Regions from separate parts of the Homo sapiens genome. Here region 2 is linked to region 1. Evidence: promoter capture Hi-C in 16 types of primary human blood cells and fetal thymus (Javierre and others, 2016). All regions are on one chromosome and are shown on one strand. The core of a region is centred on a gene start or on the middle of the fragment in contact, and the rest is flanking DNA. Distances in the headings are between cores, read along the strand shown. Region 1 holds the start of EIF3J (eukaryotic translation initiation factor 3 subunit J). Region 2 overlaps GOLM2 (golgi membrane protein 2).

Region 1 (7,859 bases), core at 2,930-5,429:
TAAACTGTTCTACTGAAATGCTAGGAGACTAGTAAAATGGAGCAAAAGTTATGTTGTCCTTGTGTCCAGTAGGTACTCACTGCCTTCTCAGTCAACACATCCTACATATCATACCAGCAATGAGGAAGGAGTCATATATGCCAAGTGAACAATTCTTCCCACTACCTCTGCACAACTATCAGGATAGTAAAAAAGGTAAATAAAGCCAGGGTGATGGGAAACTATGCTCCCGAGTTCTCATCTTTTTAACTGGGGAAAAGCATAGTCTTTTCTTGCCATATATATTAACGGTTGTACAGTTTCACCTAAGTCCACTTCTGCCACTGCCAGACAGCTATTTGAAAAGTCAAGGACAGCAAAATACTAAGTCTACTAAATGAGAGTAAAGTGCTGGAGCAAATTATAATAACAAAAACATCAGTTTTCCTTTCATTTCCCAGGACATTACAAATGACATTAAACCTGTATTTTTAAAGGTTAAGTACTAGATGCTGACATGAACAGAAGACCTCACGGAAACTAAGCCTTGTCTGCAACTCCTCATAAAAAGTACAAAAACATAAGAATTCAGAAATTTGGTGATATGGCTGAGTCTGCTGGCTCACGCCCATAATCCCAGCATTTTAGGAGGCTGAGGAGGATAGATCACTTGACTCCAAGAGTTCGAGACCAGCCTGGGCAACTTGGCGAAACTCTATCTCTACCAAAAACACAAAAATTAGCCAGTCTCACAAATCTGTCTCAAAATAAATAGGCCAGGTGCAGTGGCTCACACCTGTAATCTCAGCACTCTGGGAGGCCAAGGCGGGAAGATCGCTTTAACCTCAGGAGTTTGAGACCAGCCTGGGCAACTTGGCGAAACTCCACCTCTACCAAAAACACAAAAATTAGCCAGTCTCACAAATCCGTCTCAAAATAAATAGGTCAGGTGCAGTGGCTCACATCTGTAATCCCAGCACTCTGGGAGGCCGAGGCGGGAAGATCACTTTGACCTCAGGAGTTTGAGACCAGCCTAGGTAACATGGCGAAACCCTGTATCTACAAAAAAAAAAAAAAAATATATATATATATATATATATATATATATATAGCCAGGCGCGGTGGCTCACGTCTGTAATCCCAGCACTTTGGGAGGCCGAGGCGGGTGGATCACGAAGTCAGGAGTTCAAGACCGGCCTGGCCAAGATGGTGAAACCCCGTCTCTACTAAAAATACAAAAATTAGCTGGGTGTGGTGGTGGGCGCTTGTAATCCCAGCTACTCGGGAGGCTGAGGCAGAGAACTGCTTGAACCTGGGAGGCGGAGGTTGCAGTGAGCCAAGATCGTGCCACGGCACTCCAGCCTGGGTGACAGAGCAAGACTCTATCTCAAAAAAAAAAAAAAGAAAAAAATATGTAAATTAGCTGGGCACGGCGGTGCACACCTGTAATCCCAGCTACTAGAAAGGCTGAGGCTGGAGAATCACTTGAATCCGGGAGGCGGAGGTTGCAGAGATCGTGCCACTGCACTCCAGCCTGGGAAACGGGGTGAGACCTTCTCTCAAAAAATTAGATGAATAGATAGATTGCTTTAAGTTAAAAAAAAAAAAAAAAAAGAAAAAGAAATTTAGCACTAAAACAGCAACTGGGGCCGGGTGTGGTGGCTCACGCCTGTAATCCCAGCACTTTGGGAGGCCAAGGCGGGCAGATCACAAGGTCAGGAGATTGAGACCATCCTGGCTAACACGGTGAAACCCCGTCTCTACTAAAAATAGAAAAAATTAGCCGGGCGTGGTGGTGGGCACCTGTAGTCCTCGGGAGGCTGAGGCAGGAGAATGGAGTGAACCTGGGAGGCGGAGCTTGCAGTGAGCGGAGATTGTGCCACTGCACTCCAGCCTGGGTGACAGAGCGAGACTCCATTTCCAAAAAAAAAAGAGCAACTGGACAAGATAATCTTTGTGGTCCCTTACAACTTGTAAATATCCAAAACTTGTTCCAAGTGATCAGAATTATATTCATCAGAGGCTGGGTACGGTAGCTCACGCCTATAATTCCAGCACTTTGGGAGGCTAAGGCAGGAGAATCACCTGAGGTCAGAAGTTCAAGACCAGCCTGGGCAACATGGCGAAACCCCGTCTCTACTAAAAATACAAAATTAGCCAGGCGTGGTGGTGCGTGCCTGTAATCCCAGCTACTTGGGAGGCTGAAGCAGGAGAATCACTTGAACCCAGGAGGTGGAGGTTGCAGTGAGCCAAGATCGCGCCATTGCACTCCAGCCTGGGCAACAAGAGCGAAACTCCATCTCAAAAAAAAAAAAAAAAAGAATTATATTCATCAAGATCGATACCATTTAGATCCCTTAATCCCAAGGAAGTTATTCCATGACATTAGTCTAGACTATCCATTAAAACTTCATTTTCTGCAACTTCTTTCCTAATATCTCTAATCTTTTCTCTGCATTTGTTAATTTATTCCCAAATTTCATAACAGATGTCTTAACTGCCACTTCCTATATGCATGGAAAAAAATGAAAGGACCAATATGAACCCAAGGCTCAAAACTGAAAATCTGCTACAATGTAGAGGGGTAACTAATATCTTGTAATGCGGCTGGTAACAAAATCTAGTCCCATGTTTCTACAACATGTAAATAAAGCATCTGAGTGTCTTCAAACAATAACCAGTCGATTTATTAACTTCAATGTGTGCAAAGCTCACAACATTCTTGAACCTCAGGCTGTCAGTAAATCGGACATCCACACATCCAACCTCATCGGACTGGGGAGAGAACAGAAAAACTCAAAACAACATTCCTATTAAGTTCATAGTGATTATCTAGCTTAAACTTTTCAGCCCAGGCAGGATTTATAGGGTTCTCCGTTTGTGTTTATAAATTAGGAGAAATTCACTAAATTAGGCAAAACCACAAAAAAAAATCATTTTCCATTTCACACAAAACTTTATCTGCACAAATATAACAAGATTTTGAGAACTTTGTTAATAAGAGTCTTAACATTTTGGATTTGAGACTTCTGTAACTACTGTAAAAAAAAAAAAAAACCATGTAGAAGTAAATGTCACTTACAGCTGTATAATGAACCCTTCGGAGTTTTCAAAATCAAACGACTGAGGTAAAAATGATTATCTACAAGGCACAGACAAAACAACAACAACAACAAAAAACCACGGGCCCGTCATCTACAACCACCACCAAATCTTCAATATTTCCTTAGGTGTCGTATGTGTGTAGTTGAGTAACTGTCGTCTCTCCATTTCTCAGGTCACGGTGTGAACTACCTGGGTTTCTGTCCACTAACTGCGGGCTATCTCAGTGGTCAGTTCATTCTTTTTACCACAGGGTGGGGGAAGGGAGAGCCAAAAGTTATTTCCCTTTACTGTTTCTAGCTGTCTCGTGTGGGAAAAAAAGGTTGAAATTCAACTACAATATTTCACTCATCTAATCCCTCGAACAAACTGTATAAGTAGACCTCAGGGTCATAAATGAGTTACTGGCCCTGGGCTGACTTGAGCTCGAAAAGACAGGCGAGTCTCAAGGCTTTCCATATGGATAAGCTACAAGGCTCAATTCCCAACTTCCCGGTCTCATTCCTGCGAGAGGCTCCGGACCGCGAAGCTTGCACGTGGGCCGACCCGGCCGATGCTGTCACCTTTCGTCGCCAGCCGGCGGGTGGGATCCACGCCGGAGAGCAGACTCTCAACCGGCGAGGGAGTCCGGGAGGCCACGCTGCCAGTCTTCGGCCCACACATGGCCGGCAAGCGGAGGGGAAGAGAGCACCGCCAGGCCCTATGCTCGCGCCTGGACCCACGGCCCGCAGGCCCCGGCAGCGACCCGGGGCCCAGAGTCGGCCGGCAACAGCGCCAGCCCGCTTCCGCGCTGCCCGGCGCCCTAGCCCGCACCCACCTTGACGTCCTCGTCCTCGTCCTCGCCTTCCCAGCGGTCCCCGCCGGCAGTGCCGCCGCCCCCCACCTTCCGCACTGGGTCTTCCACGGAGAAAGCGTCGGCGTCTACGGAAGAAAGCGAGCCGTGTTAGTGCCTGCCACTGCGTGGGGCCGGCGCCGGCCCGGGCCCTGCCCCAGCAACTTCTCCTCACCCCAGGAGTCCGAGTCCCCCGCCGCCGCCGCCGCCGCCGCCATCTCGAGCCGGGTGTGAGCGTGTGTGAGAGGGAGAGCTAGCGAGGAGTTAGCACGGCGGAGGTGAGTCACTGGGTTTGCTCTCGTTGACCGGCGCGGAGCAGGATGGGACCGTGGCTGACTGTGCGCCGAGCCGAGGCCACGCCCCCTCAGGCGGCGGCGGCGACGCGCGCGGGTAAGAAGTGGGCGGGGAACGCGGTCGGTGGCGCTGCGGGGCTGAGGGAGAGGCGGAGGGGGGGGCGGAGGGGGGCGGAGGGAGGGGCGGAAAGAGCAGAGGGAGGGGCACAGGGGGCTGAGGAGTGCTGGGTCGGGCTTCCAGCTCCCTACAACGCAGACCAGTACTGGAGTTCGTGGTGCTGGAAGACCGCCGCCCGACTCTGGGCCCCGGGTAGGAAACGTAAGTGCCAGGAAGTTAGCAGAGTGGTTCTTTGGCTGGCGCCTGAACCTCGCCAGTCTTCGTCGCCCCTCCCCTGCCAACGCCTACCCCGCTTCGACCGGAGGGTGCGCTGTCCCTCTGGTCACTGTGATCACCGTCCATGGCCGCCTGCGGATACCCACGCCGTGCTCAGAAGAGGGCTCTGAGGCCACGCCCGCCTGTGGGGTCGGTGGCCGGGCTTCCGGGACCCCAGAGGGAGTCGTCGCGCGCTAGGTGGAGGGGACCCCTCTGGAATCCGGCGATCCCCGGGCGCAGATGCAGGAGCGGGTGGGGAGAGCCGCGTTCCTGGCATGTTTGCCTCGAGTTAGTCACGAAGGAATCGAAGAGAGCCTTAGTCTTCGAGGCTTTTCCCTTCCTGTGAGCCCCTTTGAGGCCAGCACATTGATTTTTTTTTCTTTCGCAGAACAATTTCGGACCTCCTGGGGTCTATGCTAGGTATGAGGTGTATCTTTGCCCTCCATCAAGTAGCAAAGATGGACATGTAAACAAATTTCGACACTGTGATGACTGCCACAAAAAGCAGCATTATGAGGTTGAATGTAAAAGGATAACCTTAGCGGCGGCGGGGGCCGGAGGATGAAGGAAGGCTTCCTGAGGTAGGCGCTGGTTGAAACTGAAGTTGGAGAGAGCAAGTGGCATTTGCTGAAGTGCATTTCCGGTAGAAAACTCCAGTGGTCCCTCACCTGACTGAGTGGCGCAGTCAGAGATAAATGGAACAGGTACACTGACCAGAAAGGGCAAGATGGGCTAAACTTCGCCGTTGGGCCACTGGGCTCCCCCGCAGGATTTTAAAGAGCTAGCCAGTAGATGGATTTTGTTTTTGTTATTTTCGCAATTTATTTTCAAATATGTAATACGCGAACTTGGTACAACATTCATGTGATAAAAAGGTAGATACGTGGGCAGGACGCGGTGGCTCACGCCTGTAATCCCAGCATTTTGGGAGGCCGAGATGGGCGGATCATTTGCTGTCAGGAGTTCGAGACCAGCCTGGCCAACATGGTAAAACCCCACCTCTACTAAAAATACAAAAATCACCTGGGCGTGGTGGCGGGCGCCTGTAATCCCCACTACTAGGGAGGCTGAGGCAGGAGAATCGCTTGAACCCGGGAGGCGGAGGTTGCAACAGTGAGCCGAGATCGCGCCACGGCTCTCCAGCCTGGGCGACAGTTAGACCCGTCTCAAAAAAAAAAAAAAAACAAAAAAGGTAGATACAACGATCAGCTGCTCCGCTCCGTTCTTTCTAGTGGTAACCATTGTTCCCCCTTTCTGGTGTTATCTTTTCAGAGTCTACAAATAAACATTTTATAAAGATGATCCTTCAATACATATTCTACAGCCCAGTTAAAATGTGAGAGGCCATGATCTACAGACAGCCATTTATAAAGGTGGATCAGGGCCGGACACGGTGGCTCAACGTCTGTAATCCCGGCACTGTGGGAGGCCAAAGCGGGAGGATCGCTTGAGCCCAGGAGTTCGAGACCAACCTGGCCAACATGGTGAGACCCCATCTTTACAAAAAAATATATATATCCAGGCATAGTGGTGTGCACCTGTGGTCCTGTGGTCCCAGCTACTCAGGAAGCTGAGGCAGTTGAGGCTGCAGTGAGCCACGTTCTGGCCACTACACTCCAGCCTGGGCATCAAAGTGACAAGACCAAAAAAAAAAAAAAATGTGGATTGGAAGGAGGCAAGAAAGAAGTCAGGAAAAGGGTGGAATGTAAGTCCCTAAGGACACAATCTTACTCACAATTGTATCTCCAACATTTGGCATAATGCCTAATACGTAAGTATTTTATGAATTAATTAAACGAGAACACAAGCCTAAATTAAGGCAATGGCAATGGAGAAGAAGAAACCAACTTGAGAAATATTTAAAGGTCATTGTCAATGGAACTTAGTGACTTTAATGGTTAATTTTATCTATCAACTTGGCTAGGCGATGCTACCCATGTTACTCAGTTTTTGGTCAAACACTAGTCTAGTTGTTGCTATGAATTGTATTTGTTAGATGTGATTAACATTTAAATCAGCAGACTTTGATTAAAGTACATTACCCTCTATAATGAGGGTGGGCCGCATCCGGTCAGTTCAAATTAAAACGAGACCCTTAAGAAGAAGCAATTCAGCCTCCAGACTGCAGCGTCAAATCTCCCTGGGTCTCCAGGCTGTTTGTCTGCCCTGCAGATTTCAGACTTGCCAGCTCCCAGAATAATGTGAGCCAATTCCTTAAAATAAATCTCTTTCTGCATATACACATCCTATTGATTCTGTTTCTCTGGAGAACCCGTACTAATATAGTGTCTGACTAGATATGAAGGAGGAGGGGAAGGGAGAAATAGATAGACGATGCCTTTGGATATTGAGTGACACTTATCTAGTTGCTTAAGTCAAAAACCTGAAAACTGGTTAGGCACGCCTATTACGGGCTCACGCCTGTAATCCCAGCACTTAGGGAGGCTGAGGCAGGCAGATCATTTGAAGTAATTCAAGACCAGCCTGGCCAACATGATGAAACCCCAAGACCACTAAAAATACAAAAATTAGCCGGGCGTGGTGGCACATGCCTGTAACCCCAGCTCCTCAGGAGGCTAAAGCAGGAAAATTGCTTGAACCCAGGAAACAGAGGTTGCAGTGAGCCGAGATTGTGCTACTCCACTCCAGCCTGGGAGAGACTCCATCTGAAAACAAACAACAAAAAAAAATGCTGGGCACAGTGGCTCACGCCTGTAATCCCAGCACTTTAGGAGGCTGAGGCGGGCGGATCACCTGAGGTCAGGAGTTCAAGACCAGCCTGGCCAATGTGGCAAACCCCATCTCTACTAAAAATAAAAAAAAAATTAGCTGGGCATGTTGGCGGGCACCGTAATACCAGCTACTCGGGAAGATGAGGCAGGAGAATCACTTGAACCGGGAGGCAGAAGTTGCAGTGAGCTAAGATCGCGCCATTGCACTTTAGCCTGGGCGACGAGCGAAACTCCCTCTCAAAAAAAAAGAAGAAGGCTGGGCGCGGTGGCTCATGCCTGTAATCCCAGCACTTTGGGAGGCCGAGGTGGGTGGATCACTTGAGGTCAGTAGTTCGAGACTAGCCTGGACATGGTGAAACCTGTCTCTACTAAAAATACAAAAATTAGCCAGGTATAGTGGCTCATGCCTATAATTCCAGCTACTTGGGAGGTTGAGGCAGGACAATGGTTTGAACCCAGGAGGCAGAGGTTGTAGTGAGCTGAGATTGTGCCACTGCACTCCAGCCTGGATGACACTCTATCAAAAAAAAAAAAAAGAAAAGAAAAAA
Region 2 (7,859 bases), core at 2,875-5,374, 240 kb after region 1:
CCCAGCACTTTGGGAGGCTGAGGAGGGCAGATCACTTGAGGTCAGGAGTTTGAGACCAGCCTGGCCAACCTGGTGAAACCCTGTCTCTACTAAAAGTACAAAAATTAGCCAGGTGTGGTGGTGGGCGCCTGTAATCCCAGCTACTCAGGAGGCTGAGACAAGAGAATTGCTTGAACCTGTGAGGCGGAGGCTGCAGTGAGCCGAGATCATGCCATTGCACTCCAGCCTTGACACAAGAGTGAAACTCTGTCTCAAAAAAAAAAAAAAAAAAAAAAAAAAAAAGAAGTGGAGCCTGAAGACGTGACTGAATTACTGCAATCTCATGATAAAACTTGAATAGGCCAGGCATGGTGGTTTATGCCTGTAATCCCAGGACTTTGGGAGGTTGAGGTGGGAGGATTACTTGAGGCCAGGAGTTCAAGACCAGCCCTGGGGAACATAGCAAGACCACATCTCTACAAAATTTTAAAATTAGCCAGGTGTGGCCAGGCACCGTGGTTCACACCTGTAATCCTAGCACTTTGGAAGGCCGAGTCAGGCGGATCACTTAAGGTCAGGAGTTTGAGACCTACTTGGCCAACAAAACCCTGTCTCTACTGAAATACAAAAATCAGCCAGGCCTGGTGGTGCATGTCTGTAATCCCAGCTACTCAGGAGGCTAAGGCACGAGAATTGCTTGAACCTGGGAGGTGGAAGTTGCGTTGAGCTGAGATCACACCACTGCACTCCAGCCTGGTGACAGGGCGAGACTCTGTCTCAAAAAAAAAAAAAAAAAAAAAATTAGCCAGGTGTGATGGCACAAGTTTGTAGTCCTAGCTGCTCCAGATGCTGAGGCAGGAGGATTGCTTGAGTCCAGAAGGTCAAGGCTGCAGTGAGCCATGATCATGCCACTGCAGTTTAGCCTGGGTGACAGAATGAGACCCTGTCACCAAAAAAAACAAACAAAAATCCAAGCTATGCTTATAACTCAAACTTTTTTTCATTATATCCCCATGAAGCTAATCCCAAGGTTTTGTTCTCTTCACTTAAACACTAAATTGAATCAGAAAAATATTTTTGAGTTTCTAAATGAATAAAATATTATTCTAGATCTACTATAACACGTTTCAAATAAAAGATATATTCTATGTATACTAGAAAGATGAGTTGACAAGCAGTAGTTTTACATCTGAATATTTTAGTTATGTCTTCCAGAAAAGGTAGTGCAATCAGATATGTGGATAATATCTGTGGTAGCCCTAGTACATATTTATGCACCCGTTGGTTCAAGAAGCAATACAAATTGCTAAATCAATCATCAAATATTTACTGAGTCCAGACATAGGGAATAGTATGAAATATTAAGTGTTAGATTTATACTAGATTTAGACTATTTATTTATTTATTTATTTATTTATTTATTTATTTATTGAGATGGAGTATTGCTCTGTCGCCCAGGCTAGAGTGCAGTGGCGCGATCTCCACTCACTGCAACCTCTGCCTCCCAGGTTCAATTGATTCTCCTGCCTCAGCCTCCCAAGTAGCTGGGACTACAGGCGTCCGCCACTACGCCCGGCTAATTTTTGTATTTTTAGTAGAGACGGGGTTTCACCATGTTGGCCAGGATGGTGTTGACCTCTGGACCTCGTGATACGCCCACCTCAGCTTCCTAAAGCGCTGGGATTACAGGTGTAAGCCACTGCGCCCAGCCTAGACTATATTTTTATAGTCAAGAAATTCACAGGCTGGATATGGTGGCTCATGCTTGTAATCCCAACACTTTGGGAGGCCAAGGCCGGCAGATCACTTAAGTCCTGGAGTTCAAGACCAGCCTGGGCAACACAATGAAACCCCATCTCTACAAAAAAAATAAAAATTAGCTGGGTGTGGTACTGTGCACCTGTAGTCCCAGCTACCTGGGAGGCTGAGGCAGGAAGCTCGATTGAATCTAGGAGGTGGAGGTTGCAGTGAGCTGAGATGGTGACACTGCACTATAGCCTGGGCAACAGAGTGAGACCCCATCTCAAAAAAAATAGGAAAGAAAGAAAATTCACAATATATCATTGGAAGACAAGAAAAAAACTAGAACCACTAGGCGTGGTGGCTCATGCCTATAATCCCAGCACTTTGGGAGGCCGAGGTGAACAGATCACTTGAGGCCAGGAGTTTGAGACCAGCCTCGTCAACATGGCAAAACCCTGTCTTTACTAAAAATACAAAAATTAGCTGGGTGTGGTGGCATGTGCATGTAGTCCCAGCTACTTGGGAGGCTGAGGCAGGAGAATCGCTTGAACCCATGAGACAGAGGTTGCAGTGAGCCAAGATCGTGACACTGCACTCCAGCCTGGGCAACAGAGTAAGACTCCATCTCAAAAAAAAAAAAAAAATTAAATGTAAAAAAGAGAGTCAATCAATGGCTTCCTATTGCCCTTAACATGACTCACAAATCTTTTCACAATCTGAATCCAGTCTTGTAGTGCAACATCAAATATTATCACACTCATTCTAGCTCCCTCATTCCACATGGTGAACTTTTTTTTTTGAGATAGGATCTCACTCTGTTGCCCAGCCTGGAGTACAGTGGTGCCATGACCTTGGCTCCTAAGTTTTTTTTTTTTTTTGAGAGAGGGTCTCCCTCTGTAGCCCAGGATGGAGTGCACTTGGCATGATCTTGGCTCACTGCAACCTCTGCCTCCTGGATTCAAGTAATTCTCCTGCCTCAACCTCCCGAGTAAATGGGATTATAGGCATGTGGCACCATACCCGGCTGATATCCTGTGCTTTAAAATATGCAATAAAATAAAATATGCAACATTCTACATCTGGAACCCTCTTTTCATCTCTCCTGAGCCTCTTATCTCAAACCTCTCACTCAATCTTTGCCTCATTAAATCCTGATCTTTTTTTTAGGACTCAACTAAAACTCTCAAGAATGTCATCCCTAAGCCTCTAAAATAGGTTAGGTCTTCCCCTCATAGCCCCTGCTCAAGGGTAAGTTCCATAGTCAATGTATACCATATCTGTCTTGTTCACTCATTCACTATGTGATATGCATGCAGCATAGTAACTGATCCAAAATAGAAACTTGAACATATTTGTTCAATAAAGAAATTAAAATGGGGTTAAAGATGGAAGCACAGCATATGTAAACATTGAGTGGGAAAATGATAGGATAACCAAGATAAATGGGTATTATTAAAGCTAAAGGGAAGAAGTTTCAAAAAGGAGAGAAAGGAGAGATCATCAGTATAAAATGCTATAGAGAGTCAAGTTTAAGAGTGAAAATGTAGCCAGGCATGGTGGCTCATGCCTGTAATCCCAGCACTTTGAGATGCTGAGGCGGGAGGATCACTTGAGGCCAGGAGTCTGAGGCTGCAGTGAGCTATGAGAGGCCTTTGTTAATCATCAAATGAGAAAAAATGTTCCCCTAAGTTGAACTTAAATTGGATATAGAAAATTGAAATTGTAAAAGGAAAGCAAATCATTTTATATTAAATAGAAAAAGCTTCGTGGATGTAAGTTTTGAAGTCATCCTCAGGGAAAAAGTGTAGTTTGGAAAAGAGAAAGAATCAGACATTAAAAGCATCTGAGCAAAAGCTCTGTGGCAACATTGTTCAAAAGAGGAACTACCTGGCCAGAAACAGTGTAAGAAAATTAGATAAAGTTAATTAAGAACAAGAAAGAGAGCCTTGAAGCACTGTGAGAAACTGAAATTACTGCATGCCCAGTCTGTCCCTAGAAAAAAGCCTGGACTTTGAATTCAAGGAAACTTTAACTCTCTTTTGAGGAAGAGGCTAACATGGGGAACTTTAAGGTCTTCAACCAAAAATTGTAAGGACTAGTTCCTCCTGTTTAATGAGGTCATAAGTCAAAAGGTACTCCCTGTCACTTCAGGAGACAGATGTTACATGCCACACTATAAGAACTGTTTGTTTGCCTCTATGGAGTAAGTAAAAGGGAGCTCCTTGAATGTCCTTTTACCTTTTTTCTGCACAACTAAATCCTAGTCATCATTTTTCAAAAAGCAGCTTGTTTTATGATCTTCATGGAACCTCCTGAGATTACTCAGTCCTTTATCAGGAGAGTAAGAAAAAACAGAGAAATACAAAAATAAGAAAGGGAGACAAAGAAAAGTGAAAACTTGTTTCAAAGATCATTTTAGTGTATAGCACAGTAAGTGCCCAATATATTTAATAAATTTTTGTCAACTGAATTAATATACTTGGGTTTCAATAGAATAATACAAGACTAAACTTCTTCCTTCCTTCCTCCCTCCCTTCTTCCTTTCTTTTCTTTCTTCCCTCTCCCTCTCCCTCTTTCTTCCTCTTTCTCTCCTTCCCTCCTTCCTTCCCTCCCTTCCTTCCTTCCTTCTCTTTCCTCCTCCCCTCCCCTCCTCTCCTCTCTTCTTTTCTTTTTTCCTTTTCTTTCTTTTTTTGAGACAGGGTCTTGCTCTGTTGTCAGGCTAGGGCACAGTGGCACAATCATAGCTCCCTGCAGCTTCAAACTCCTGGGCTCAAGTGATCCTCCAGCTTAAACCTCCCAAGCAATTAAGACTATGGGCATGTGTCACCATGCCCAGCTTTTTTTTTTTTTTTTTTTTTTTTTTTGCTATGTTGCCCAGGCTAGCCTCAACCTCCTGGCCTCACATGATCCTCCTGCCTCAGCCACCCAAAGTGCTGGGATTATAGGCATGAGCCACTACACCTAGCCCCAAATTTCTTCAAGATTAGCTATACCAATGCACCCATGAAAGAAAGGAACCAATATTATTAAATGTCAAGCTTTGTATGGGACAGGCCTCTAAATATTTTACTTCATGAATCCTCTTCATTTTATGAGTGAAGAAACAGGCTTAAGGAGAGGTAACATAATGGTAGAATTATAAACTCAAGTCTGTTTGACTCCAAAAACCCTTGTTCTTTCCAGTGAACCATACTGCCACACAGTATATATTATATAAGAGTAGTTATCTAGTCAATTTGGGAGGCCGAGGCGGGCGGATCACCTGAGGTCAGGAGTTCAAGACCAGCCTGGCCAATATGGTGAAACACTGTCTCTATCAAAAATGCAAAATTTAGCTGGGTGTGGTGGTGCGTGCCTGTAATCCCAGCTACTCGGAAGGAAGAAGCAGGAGAACCACTTGAACTCGGGAGGTGGAGGTTGCAGTGAGCTGAGATCGCGCCACTGCACTCCAGCCTGGGCGACAGAGCGAGACTCTGTCTCAAAAAAAAAAAACAAAAACAATTATCTAGTCAAAAAATCAAATTAACTTTTAAGTATGCATTTGTGTATTTGTTTCCTAGGCTGATATAACAAAGTGCCACAAACTGAATAGCATAAAGCAGAAATGTATTGTCTCACAGTGCTAGAGGATGGTTTCAGAGGCTAGAAGTCCAAAATCAAGGTGTTGGCAAAGCCCTGTTCCCACTGGAGCCTCTAGGGGGAGGCTCCTGGCTTCTGGCTTCTGGTAGCCCTGGGCATTCCTTGGTTTGTGGAAACATAACTCCAATCTCTGCCTTTATCTGCCATGCGGTCTCTGCAATGTGTCTGTGTGTCTCTGTGTATTCATGCACCTGGTGTTCTCCCTAATTCTATTTTTTTTTCTTATAAGGATACCAGTTATAATGGAATAGGGGCCACCCTAATCCAGTATGACCTCATTTTAACTTGATTACATCTGCAAAGACCCTATTCCCAAACTAAGATAACATTCACAGGTGATTTAGACTTCAATATATCCTTTTAGGGGATACAAATCAACCTCGTACATTTTGTAACAGCACTAAGAACAATTTTTCCCGCAGGAAAAAATTTAAAACATAGTCCTTCCTCAAGGAACTTAAAATTTCGTTGAGAAAACGAAGTTCACAAACAATAAGCTATTAGTAAAAAATGAACAAAATAAGTTAATGAAGCTCAAACAATAAATGTAAATGGTGTATAAAGAAGGAAAAGCATGGCTGGGAGCAGTGGCTCACACCTGTAATCCCAGCACTTTGGGAGGCCCAGGTGGGTGGATCACCTGAGGTTAGGAGTTCGAGACCAGCCTGGCCAATGTGGTAAAACCCCATCTTTACTAAAAATACAAAAAAAAAAAAAAAAATTAGCCGGCCATGGTGGTGGGTGCCTATAATCCCAGCTACTTGGGAGGCTGAGGCTAGAGAATCACTTGAACCTGGGAGGCGGAGGTTGCAGTAAGCTGAGATCGCGCCATTGCACTCCAACCTGGGCGACAAGAGCAAAACTCCATCTCAAAAAAAAAAAAAAAGAAAAAGAAAAGAAGGAAAAGCATATTCCAGGTCAGAAGTCCCAGGGGGCTTCATAGTGGACATGGATCAGAAGCTGGATAAAAGATTGGTAGAATAGGCCAGGTGTGGTGGCTCATGCCTGTAATCCCAGCACTTTGGGAGGTCAAGGTGGACGGTTCACAAGGTCAGGAGTTCGAGACCAGCTTGGCCAACATGGTGAAACCCCATCTCTATTAAAAATACAAAAAAATTTAGCCAGGCCTGGTGGTGCGTGCCTGTAATCCCAGCTACTCAGGAGGCTGAGGCAGGAGAGTCGCTTAAACCCGGGAGGCGGAGGTTGCAATGAGCCAAGATTGCGTCACTGTACTGCAGCCTGGGCAACAGAGCAAGACTCCATCTCAAAAAAAAAAAAAAAAAAGGCCAGGTGCGGTGGCTCACACCTGTAATCCCAACACTTTGGGAGGCCAAGGCGGGTGGATCATGAGGTCAGGAGATCAAGATGGAGACCATCCTGACTAACATGGTGAAACCCCTTCTCTACTCAAAATACAAAAAATTTAGCTGGGCCTGGTGGCGGGTGCCTGTAGTCCTAGCTACTCAGGAGGCTGAGGCAGGAGAATGGTGTGAACCCGGGAGGCGGAGCTTGCAGTGAGCCAAGATCACACCACTGCACTCCAGCCTGGGCGACAGAGCAAGACTCTGCCTCAATTAAAAAAAAAAAAACAAAAAAAAATTGGTATAATAAATATACAGAAAAGAGGCAAGAAACTAAGAGTCAAACAGCAGGAACAAAGGCACAGAAACAGGAATTAACATGACACAGAAAGGCAGGTGGGAAGGCAAAAGTAAGCAAAACAATCAGCCTGAAATACAATTTGGGTCAGGAGATAGTGGGAGACAAAGGTAGCTAGAGCCATTCTATGGAAGACCTTAAAGATGAGACAGCAGAATTCTAACCTGATGTAGTCAGTGAGTCATACAGCCACTCTGAAAATAAGGTTTGAGGAAGTTCAGGCTGGCTTCACAGGAGAACTGACAAAAAGAAATGGAGACCAAGGAAAGGGGACTAGTTAGGGATCTGCCAAGTTCTCTATTCTGCAGTCAGAATGACGTTTTTTTTAATTCGATCAAGTAACTCCTCTGCATGTTGAAGCACTCAATATGATACACTGAAGGAATCAAAGACAACACCAAATTTCTAACCTCAGTCTTAAATAACAGTTGCATGGGCATCATTTATAGGAACCAAGAAGGTAGGAAAGGGATATCGTTTGGAAGAGTTATCAGTTTTGATTGGTTTATGAATAATTTGAGGTAGAAATTACAGTTAAAAGTTGGCCAGATTATGGCTGGTGAGGCAGAGGCAAAGGCAGGAATTATCATGTGCAGCATATTAGAACTGTAGAAGGTTGATACTCAAATTACAGAAGAACAGGCAAGCTCTAGGGAGTCAGCTAAGACACCTATGGGAGGAGCCAACTAAGCCTAACTGGAAATGAACCAGGAAACTGAAAACAAGCAAATAACAAAAACAGTCAGACATTCAGGAGCAAAGGGTGAGGCAGGTAGGCTAGGGCTGGGACCAGATCTTGGGCAGGAACACAGACAGAGTCCCATCCTGGAAAAAAGGCA

What was found. The method cuts DNA at HindIII sites, captures the fragments that hold promoters and counts their contacts. A CHiCAGO score of 5 or more calls a contact.
Region 2: a contact is called between a fragment that was not itself captured here and the fragment with the promoter of EIF3J in region 1, in 1 of 17 cell types (erythroblasts). The highest score is 5.8, in erythroblasts.

What each region holds. Positions count from the first base shown.
Region 1 is chr15:44,533,467-44,541,325 of GRCh38, reverse strand. It overlaps EIF3J (eukaryotic translation initiation factor 3 subunit J), which reads right to left and starts at 4,179. Exons shown (of 8, transcript NM_003758.4): 1 at 4,089-4,179; 2 at 3,899-4,002. The coding sequence starts at 4,131. EIF3J-DT (EIF3J divergent transcript) reads left to right here and starts at 4,403. Exons shown (of 2, transcript NR_034170.1): 1 at 4,403-5,283; 2 at 5,852-6,821. RefSeq lists silencers at 3,677-3,726, 3,747-4,056, 4,247-4,416 and enhancers at 4,587-5,036, 4,724-5,511. The HindIII fragment of the contact is 7,095 bases long and covers 3,613-7,859 here.
Region 2 is chr15:44,296,654-44,304,512 of GRCh38, reverse strand. The region is part of intron 1 of GOLM2 (golgi membrane protein 2); the gene reads right to left. Among named protein-coding and RNA genes, the nearest start is that of GOLM2, 12 kb to the right of the region's middle. RefSeq lists a silencer at 3,748-4,042. The HindIII fragment of the contact is 1,276 bases long and covers 3,487-4,762 here.